Regions from separate parts of the Homo sapiens genome. Here regions 2 and 3 are each linked to region 1. The links are contacts of gene promoters, found by promoter capture Hi-C in blood cells and fetal thymus (Javierre and others, 2016). All regions are on one chromosome and are shown on one strand. The core of a region is centred on a gene start or on the middle of the fragment in contact, and the rest is flanking DNA. Distances in the headings are between cores, read along the strand shown.

Evidence for each region. The method cuts DNA at HindIII sites, captures the fragments that hold promoters and counts their contacts. A CHiCAGO score of 5 or more calls a contact.
Region 2: a fragment that was not itself captured here is called in contact with the fragment with the promoter of CCDC66 in region 1 in 1 of 17 cell types (monocytes); the score reaches 5.8 in monocytes.
Region 3: a contact is called between a fragment that was not itself captured here and the fragment with the promoter of CCDC66 in region 1, in 2 of 17 cell types (total CD8 T cells and activated CD4 T cells). The highest score is 7.4, in total CD8 T cells.

The regions. Positions count from the first base shown.
Region 1 is chr3:56,555,635-56,558,955 of GRCh38, forward strand. It overlaps CCDC66 (coiled-coil domain containing 66), which reads left to right and starts at 1,541. Exons shown (of 18, transcript NM_001141947.3): 1 at 1,541-1,619; 2 at 3,212-3,276. The coding sequence starts at 1,609. RefSeq lists enhancers at 984-1,656, 1,657-2,328, 1,797-1,956. The HindIII fragment of the contact is 1,896 bases long and covers 1,327-3,222 here.
Region 2 is chr3:57,095,931-57,099,315 of GRCh38, forward strand. It overlaps IL17RD (interleukin 17 receptor D), which reads right to left. Exons shown (of 13, transcript NM_017563.5): 12 at 1,666-2,608; 13 at 1-575. The coding sequence ends at 463. Among named protein-coding and RNA genes, the nearest start is that of SPATA12, 37 kb to the left of the region's middle. RefSeq lists an enhancer at 1,286-2,485. The HindIII fragment of the contact is 3,437 bases long and covers 1-3,362 here.
Region 3 is chr3:57,221,830-57,224,837 of GRCh38, forward strand. It overlaps a transcript of HESX1 not described here. Among named protein-coding and RNA genes, the nearest start is that of APPL1, 4.4 kb to the right of the region's middle. The HindIII fragment of the contact is 253 bases long and covers 1,137-1,389 here.

The DNA.
Region 1 (3,321 bases), core at 291-2,790:
TGTTATGTTCGTACCAATGTAGGCGGCCTGGGTGACAGAGCAAAACCCTGTCTCTAAAAAAAAAAAAAAAAGAAAGAAAAGAAAAAGAAAAAGCAAGTGTTGGGGTGAAGAAATTAGAACCTCATATACATTGCTGGCAGAAATGTAAGATGCTGCAACTGTTATGAAAACAGTTTGGCAGTTTCTCGAAAAGTTAACCATAGAATTACCATGTGACCCAGTAATTCCACTCTTAGGTGTATACCAAGAAAATTGAAAATAGGGATTCAAACAGATACTTGTACATCAGTGTTCACTACAGCATTATTCACAATAACTAAAAGATGGAAACAACCCAAATGTCTATTAATGGATGAATGAGTAAACGAATTGTGGTATATATATACATAGAATGGAATACTATTCAATCATAAACAGATATGAAGCTCTGATACATCCTACAACATGGATGCACCTTGAATACATTATGTTACTTGAGAGAAGACACAAAAGGACAAATATTGTATGATTCCACTTTTATGACATGAAGTATCTATAATAGGCAAATTCCTAGAGACAGAAATAAGATTAGAGGTTTCTTAGGATTGAGGGGAGAGGAAAATGGGAAGTTGTTGCTTAATGGGTACAGAATTTTTATTTGGGGGTACTAAAAAGCTTTTGGAAAAATATACTGGCGTATTCCACAACATTGTATCATGGAATTGTCACTTGAAAATGGCTAAAAATAGCAAATTTTAACACACATATTACAACAATAAAAAATAAAAAAGTAAAGGTTTGTCAGGCATTTAATAATTAATACCTTTCATTGTTTTTGTCTGGAAAGAGTGTGTGCAAAGATACTTAACAACCAAATGTAATGTGTGATCCTTGATCGGCTCTTGCATTTTTTTTTTTTTTTTTTGAGACGGAGTCTCACTCTGTCGCCCAAGCTGCTGGAATGCAGTGGCGCGATTGGCTCTTGCTTTCTAAATAAAATGCCTATAAGATATTCTTAGGACAAGTGGGGGAAATTAAATCGGGAAGAGAATTATTATGAAATTAATGATCTTAGGTATAATAATTGTACTGCGGTTATGTAGCAGAACATCTATTCTTAGGAGATACATGCTGCAATGTTAAAGGGTTAAGTGTTACAATGTCTGCAATGTTAAAGGGTTAAGTGTTACAATGTCTGTAACTTACTTGCAAATGGTGACCCCAAAAAGGTGTGTGTGTGTGTGTGTGTGTGTGTGTGTGTGTGTGTGTGTGTGTGTGTGTGTGTGTGTGTCTGTGTACGCGCTTTGGAAGGCTACAATTGCGAGAAGCGCAGGTCTCCGCCACCGAAGCTTTAGACTCATAAGCCGGGTCAGGCCAAATTCCGCTGTGCGTAGGGGAACAAACGGCACAAACGGGGCACAAAAGGGGAACAAACGGCATACGCAACCGTCCCCGCGGGAGCCCCGGCCCAGCTCAGCGCACCCGCCAGCATGCCCCACCCTGATTGGTCCACTTGCTCAGCTCGCCGGCACCCCTATATCCAATTGGCGTAGCGCTTGCTGAGCGGCGGCGGCAACCGACGTACACAAGGGGCTTGAGCGTTCTGTGGAGAGAGTGCGAGGTCAGGCCATGAACTTGGGGTAAGCAGGGGTAAGCTGGGGTAAGCTGGGGTAAGCAAGGTGGTCGTCAGCGGAGAGGGAGGCATGTGTGTCTGGGTTGTCCCTTGGAGTCTTTACTGGAGAACGTTCCCAACCTGCGCCGCCGAGAGGGGCAGAGCCCAGTTCTCGGGTAGAAGATCGAGGCAGATGGGTCGGCCCTTAGCGACTCCACAGACCTTACGTTTTCACTTAATGACTAGCATTAAAACTGCCAGTGATCCCCTTTCGGTCCCTTATTTACCTCAGGATGAGGAGGGAAGAGAGGTGAGGAGGAAAGGAGAGAAATGACGAGACAGTTAGAGGAAGCGTGGCGGCTCCTGGGGAGGACTCCTGGCCCATGCCCCGGGTTCTTCGCCACCTTGTTTTTGGAGTCTTGCAGAATGTTGAAACGCCCAAATTCGTTTTAGGCCCACGAGGCGGGGAACCAGGCTTCTCAAGAAATCGATGTAGTACCAGTGCCTAACACCTAGTAGGCGCTCCTTAAGTAGGGGTGAATAAATAAAAAGGGCTGGTGCATGGTCTTCATCACTCGCAAGTTTGATATTTTGAGAAGATGAGAAGCCACCAAACTCAGACCTAACTACACATCGTTCAGCAAATGTTATTATGTTTTAGAATCTGGGGATATGGAAATAAATAAGATAGTGTGTCCCTTAAGGAGATTACAGTGCAGTGCGTCATTGAAGGTACTTTACCATTGAAGCTCTTTTCTTTCTTGGTGACGTTTCACCAACATAAACACGAACTGTTCATAACCCTACAATAAGGAAAGCCGTAAAACCTATTCTTTCCAGTGTTTTACCTTTAATAGTTAAGGTGAGGTAATTTGATTTCCCCTACCTGAGCAACACCGCAAATTTCGCATTCCTAATCAGACCTTTCCCAGCCTCTCTCTCCCTTGACTGGCTTGCTGGATTTAATTTTCTCTCTCTGAATTATGGACTGTATGTATGGGCTGCCATTTTTGTTCTCAGTGGAGTTTTAGGACCTTAACAGACGTTCAAGTTTTGTTGGCAGTGGCTACTGTTACTTTATGCCTTTGCTTCTGATATGCACGTATAAAGCACCATACTAAATATCACTATGTATTATTTGAAATATTGAAAGTGGTACTCTTTGCTCAAGCAGTTACTAACCTTGATGGCATTGTTAGTAGTCATATCGATGCTCCAGCACTCCATAGAATGTTTTAGTCATGAGTTCATTATGAAACTAATGAATGGCGGTTAAATATATCTTGTTCCTTTAACTTATGTGAGGAGTTTTGGTAACAGCATTATTAAAAAATGGTGGTATGATAACTTAATTTATAGTTTACCAATAACAAAATGAGATTTCAGGTTAATGATAACAATGCTTGTAGTATTGAAGAGTTTCAAGAATTTTCCCCCTGTAGTTGTGGGTTTTATCTTGGATTGCAAACGTTTTTAATTAAAACACTGGTTCGATGTGTACAAGATTCCTGCATAAATTCAAAATAATGGATTTATTGTCAGGTTCAAATGAACATTTCTGGTTATTTAAAATGTTGCGGTTTGTTAAAAATGAGAGACAACTTTCTTTTTTTATTACAGAGATGGTTTAAAGCTTGAAACTGAATTACTGGATGGAAAAACCAAGCTAATATTGTCTCCATATGGTATGTTGTGTTACAGAAATCTGAAATGTTAACTTTTAAATTCAT
Region 2 (3,385 bases), core at 394-2,893, 540 kb after region 1:
ATTCCAGATAGACTGGCACTTGATTTCTGTGGCTATGATGTTAAAAGTGCCTTTTTTCACAAAGCATTTCAAATCAAGGTAGCCAATAGCAAACAGGCAAAGTTTGCAGAGCTCAATGAAGTCTGAATGATTAGTGCAGGTATCTTCCTGTTTTTCTTTACATATTTCCTCCCTACCTCCCACAACAGGCTCTGATCCAAGGACTAACCAAATTTGGCAAGCTGTTGTCAGACCTTATGGACATGCCTTTCAGAGCTCCATATCATTTTAGAAAATTGGAGAGTTTGTCAAGATATCCGGTAAAGGGTTGGGGCAAGGGAGAACAAGTACTGGCCAGCATTTCACTCCAAATATCCTTGTATGAGACCTCAGCTCCAAGTGGGCCATGCAACCAGGGAGATGAGCTGGGGAATCAGAGGGAGGCAGCAGCTAAAGTGGCAATGCTTAGACTCTTTCGTTTTGTTACAAAGGGGCGACCGCGTGGAGTTCATCAGTGTAGCTGCGGCAACCAAGATCTGCTTTGCATGACCCAGAAGAGAGGAGCTTGGAAGGAAGGGCAGGAGGTTCCTCCTCACCTAAGGAGAGAAGAGAGTACAGAGTCACACTGTCATTGCATTTCACTGGGCTGGGCAGGTGCTCATGGCAGAATGTGACTGGATCTGGGTTTGGACTATGGGCTCTGTATAAACGAGGCAAGAATCCCAACCAACTCAAGATGGGGCACTCTCATCCTCCTAACAGGTTCTAGTTCCCTTAGTTGAGGAAGGAAGAGATATTTCTTAAAAGTCAAGCGTTTAGGCCGGGCGCAGTGGCTCACGCCTGTAATCCCAGCACTTTGGGAGGCCGAGGTTGAGGGATCACTTGAGGTCAGGAGTTTGAGACCAGCCTGGCCAACATGGTGAAACCCAATCTCTACTAAAGATACAAAAATTTAGCTGGGCATGGTGGCGCATGCTTGTAATCCCAGCTATTCGGGAGGCTGGGCAGAAGAATCGCTTGAACCCAGGAGGCAGAGGTTGCAGTGAGCTGAGATCATGCCATTGCAGCCTGGGCGACAGGGTGAGACTCCATCTCAAAAAAAAAAAAAAAAAGTCAAGGGTTTGTATGCATGACTCCAACTAGTTACAGACATGGTAAGGGACAGCCTGAGATGGCATCTACCTGATGCTCCCTGCAGAAGTAGGCCTTCCTAGAGAGCCCTCATACCTGGGACCCTATGCTGAAGGATAGAAAGAATACTGTACCCATGAATCCCAGACTCAATGAATGTAGCTTTAAAGACAATGGGGGCGGGGGGTGTGAACATTACAGGTCTAAAAAAGACGCATCCACAAACTGTTACCCAAGACCCTTGGGGCCCAATGTGTTTTCGTGTCTGATGTTTTTGGAGTTTAGAAAAGTGATACAGTGCATAGTCTGTATGTGGCACAACACCCCTTGCAGGGTCTGGGCAGCTCACTATAATTTAGCATTAGTATTTCTGCAACTCAAACATGTGAGTACTCCCATCACCTGGTATAAATCAAGACTACCAAACGAGCTGTGTTCTCATCAGGTTTCATTGCCCAATAAGTTGGCACCAAAAGTGGAAAAACGCTTTGACTGATTTCAGAAGCATGGTCAAAGGCTGCGGCCTGTTAGGACCCGGCCCCAAAGGCACCTTACCCAGGCCTGAAGAGGAGGACACGCTCTCCGTCAGGGAAGACGTTTCTGTCTGGTCCGTCGAGAGTCCTTCCATCAGTGGCAGAGACAGCTCGGATGAGGGCACAGACGAGTCATAGATGCCTGAGTCCCGCGGCATGTCCGAGGGGCTGCCGGCTTTCACCGTGTGCAGCAGGGGTTGCAGGGCGGCGCTACCGTCAAGGGCAGGCCGGGCCTCCCCGTCTTGGTCCAGGCCCCCATGCTGACTCTCGTGCTGGGAGTCGGCTGGTCCGGTTGCCCCAAGAACAGCCGCCTCTACCTTTAGGCAGAAGTCACTCTCAGGCCCTGGTTTGCACATGACATCATTTAAAACCAAGCCCGAATCAAATTTCTCCAAGACTGGCTCCCGGTAGCGCAGTGGAGGAGGATGGAAGGGAACGAACTGCTTTTCGAACCAGTCGGGCTCCTCGTCAATAAACTGGTGCATGTTGCAAATGGCGACGTATAGGGACCGGCCTGACTTGCTCCGGAAGTAGTTCCTTCTGCTGCCCTGTCGCGTGTGCTGCCCCGGCTCCTGGAGGCCGTGGTCTCGGGAGTGCAAGTGGGAACAGAGCTGAGGAAGATTGTCCATGAGTCTGTACTTGGTACTCAGGTCTAGGATACCGGGGACGTCTCCCTCGCAGGAATAATCAAAGTAGACGGCGATAAACTTGCTGAGCGCCGCGGACGAACTCTGCTTGGCCTGGCGGAGCTTTTCGGCAATGGCTGACACCGCCACCAGGAAGAGCTCTCCTTTCCCCGAGCCTCGGCCACCTCCTTTGTGTTTGTAGTTCTTCTTGTCCACAAAGTACTTCATACCTTTGGAACAAACCACAATGATGAACTGGGACTCGTGGATCTTCTGGATGACCCATTCTCTCTGCCCTTCTCTACAGAGGCTGAAGTCTTCCCACAGGTCCAGAGCCACCTGGAAAGAGAACAAGGCACCTCACCCATACAGAAGGCTCGGGAAGAGGCTCGGGAAGTGAGTAACAGGAAGGGAAATGTCAGAAGGAGGCCATCTCATCTGCCCCTTAACCCTTATTAGCACAGCTATGTGCAGGCTCCAGGTTACACCATACCAAGGAACAGCTAAAGTTCCGTGGGTGATGGTCACACCCTAGTCCCTCTGCAAAAACTTGCCATCCATCCATTTTTGTATCACATGGAGTCATTACCACTCCTGCCCTACAAGTGAGGGGACAGAAGCGCAGTGCTTTTGGCACCTTGCCCAAGTCACACCCTACATAGGATATCCTCAAGGAAGCAACAGGTGGTAGAGAGCACAGGACAGAGAAACTGAGGTTGGTTGATCTGGTGAGTGAGGTGCCTAGATTGGAGGGGCAGATTCTGGAGAGAAGGCTGGCAGGCTCTGAGAGGAGGATGTGGATGAGTGACTCCAAAGTGAGCTGGGAGATGGGGCTCAGGCCTGGATGCCAGTCACCCACAATTATAGGTGACTCACATCCAGACAGTGACTGACAAAGGGGACCTATCTCGACACTCTCATAGCCTCAGGCTCACCTATGTTGTTTACTAGTTGGTCCATGGCTGGAGAGGAGGCTAGTGAACTGCATTAACATGGTCATTCTGAGTAACTCACTCAGGACTGGCTAGCACCTTCCTCTATGGCTTCACACAGGTATACAAGGCTACATCTCTACAAGGCTGGTAATTGACAAAGCTTTACCCCCAAAGGCGGTCT
Region 3 (3,008 bases), core at 13-2,512, 670 kb after region 1:
CTCCTGATCTCGTGATCCACCCGCCTTGGCCTCCCAAAGTGCTGGGATTATAGGCATGAGCCACTGCTCCCGGCCAATATGCTATACTTCTAATACTACTTACTATGTTTATTTTTTATTGTCTTTCTCCCCACCATATCTACTAACCTGTAGCTCCACAATGACAGATATTTTTGTTTTGTTCATTATTTAATAAATATTTGTTGAATGAAGACAGCTGTTCCCTGAGGTAGTCTGAATCCTAAATAATTGGTGCCATCTAGTGTTCTTGGAAGCACGTGTGAATTATCCCTGAGAGTCTTATTTGTATTAGCCATTGGATAAATAGTACTGGTATAATCAATTCTGCTACTCTGTTTTTCACTGCCCTCTATGGCTCTGAAAATATTAAAATGTTTTCAATGATTAAACAGGCACAGGACATATTAATTTCCCTAAAAGCATTTTTTTGAGACAGGGTCTCGCTATCACCAGGCTGGAGTACAGCGGCAAGATCACGGCTCACTGCAGCCTTGACCTCCTGGGCTTAAGCAATCCTCCCACCTCAGCCTCCCGAGTAACTGGGACTACAGGCATGTGCCACCACACCTGGCTAATTTTTAAATTTTTTGTAGAGACACGGTCTCACTATGTTGCACAGGTTAGTCTCAAATTCCTGGGCTCAAGCGATCCTCCCACCTCAGCCTCCCAAAATTTTGGGATTACAGCTGTGAGCCACCGCCCCCAGCCTATGAGCAATTTTTTCCCCAATGATTTGACTGTTCCTTCCAGAATTCCCATGTGGGGTAAGTGTCATGAAAATCTTTTAACTTTGGGGCACCTCTACCCACTCACCACCCGCCAAACAAAAAACAAAACAAAAAACAAAACAAAAACTCCTAAAAACCTCAAAATGGCAATAATCTTGGCTATTTTGGTAATTGTTTTGGTACACTTTTCCTCCAGAATTTCAAAGTACATATTTATTGATTTTGAAATTTTGGTTTTGGCCTCAAAAGCCCCCAAATCAAAGTGATAAAACATTAGCAAGAGTAACTAATGTTATTTAAAATAGCATCAGGATTCTCTAAGGTAATGAGCCCAATCTTCTGATTTAAAAAATATTAGTTTTTAAAAAAATATGATAGAGACAAAAAAGCTTCCTTAAATGTATTAAAATATTTTAATATTTAATAGTTGATAATGAAAAAGATAATTTTTACTGAATGCTTATTGCGCTAGGAGCTACTCTAAAAGCTCATTAATCATCTTAACAATACTATTAATGTAAGTTCTCTAGTATTAAGCTCCATTTTTCAGATGGCAGAATGGAGAAACAGAGAAGTTAAATAACCTTACTTAAGTCACAGAGCTACTAAACAGTGGAGCCAGAATTTAAATCACAGCCCAAGCTTATTAGCTCATAACCATGTTCTCATCTACCTCTCCACAGAAGGGCTATGATGCTATTTTGTGTTAAAGTTCTTGGCCTGCTCAGACAAATTAATTAATGTGTTCTTCTAAAAAGGAATCAAGGCAACCATAGATAAACAAAAGCATATACAATTTTCCTAGAAGTTTTTTTTTTTCTTTTTACCATCAAGAAAGTTGAAGCTGCAGAATTGTCCCACATTCTAAGGATGCTGTGGCAATGAGTAAAAGTGACATCAAGGTCAAGGTCAAAGGCAGAAGCTAGTTTGCAGTGGCACAATGAAGAACCAACCAGTTGGTCCTTAGTGCCCTCCCACCTCTTTTTGCAACCCATTCCTCAGAACTTTTTGTTTTACCCTCCAATTGTCCAAAGCTTCCCCCTACTCTGCTACTGGCTCTAATGTTTTAAAATAGATTAAATGACTGAAGTTCCCAAATTATCAATTTTCTTGAAATCTGCTCTTTCCTGAATCTGCTTTATCTCAGCTGGTATTAAGAAAATAATGAATTATCTGTTAAAGTTAGTCCTATTAAGGAGTGATTTACTAGGTAACAACCAGAATTTTTTGCATTATACATTACACTCTTTAAAAGGAGTATGAATTTCCCAGAATTTTAGATTGATGGAGTCTTTTAGAGAATATTTGTGAGTAGGTGGTTTCCAGCTCGTTAGCCTGGAAATCATGTCCTCACCATCCTTAGCTGGAATCTAGGATTCCTTTTCTAAATGTTTGCTTGACTCTTTATTTTTTGTTAATTTTTGTTTTAATTTAGACTGAGTCTCGCTTTGTCACCCAGGTTGGAGTGCAGTGGTGTGATTTCGGCTCACTGCAACCTCCGCCTCCCAAGTTCAAGCGATTCTCCTGCCTCAGCCTCCCGAGTAGCTGGGATAATAGGAACCTGCCACCACATCCAGCTAATTTTTGCAGAGACGGGGTTTCACTATGTTGCCCAGCCTGGTCTTGAACTCTTGACCTCAGGTGATCCACCCGCCTCGGCCTCCCGAAGTGCTGGGATTACAGGCATGAGCCACTGCACCAGGCCAATTTTTTAAAATTTTAATTTAATTTAATTTTTTTTTGTAGAGATGGTGTCTCTGTGTTGCCCAGGCTAGTCTCAAACTCCAGAGCTTAAGCAATCCTTCCACCTTGACCTCCCAAAGTGCTAGGATTACAAGCATGAGCTACTGTGCCCACCTGACTCTTTAAAAATTTTTTTTAAATACAAAGTGATTTAGGAAAGGGAAATGATCATTCTCCATCTTGGATAGAGTTTTTCCTCATGTGGTTTGTGGATTACCCACTTCAGACTTAACTGGAGAGATTCCCAGCCCTGACTCTGACCTACTACACCAAAATCTTCCAGCAGGGCTCAGGAATCTGTATGCTAACAACCTTCCCAGATAACTTTTATGTGTGCATTAAGTTTGGAAACCACTGACCTAAAGGGATAATTTTTAAAAGTAAAGCACCAGCATCACTTGGGTTATTGGATTCTTTCCTATTACAGATCACAGACCAGAACTTCAAGGAGTATCATGTAAAAACCTAATTATAAGACCAAATATAATTTTAGGAGACTAATAATTAACAACTCTA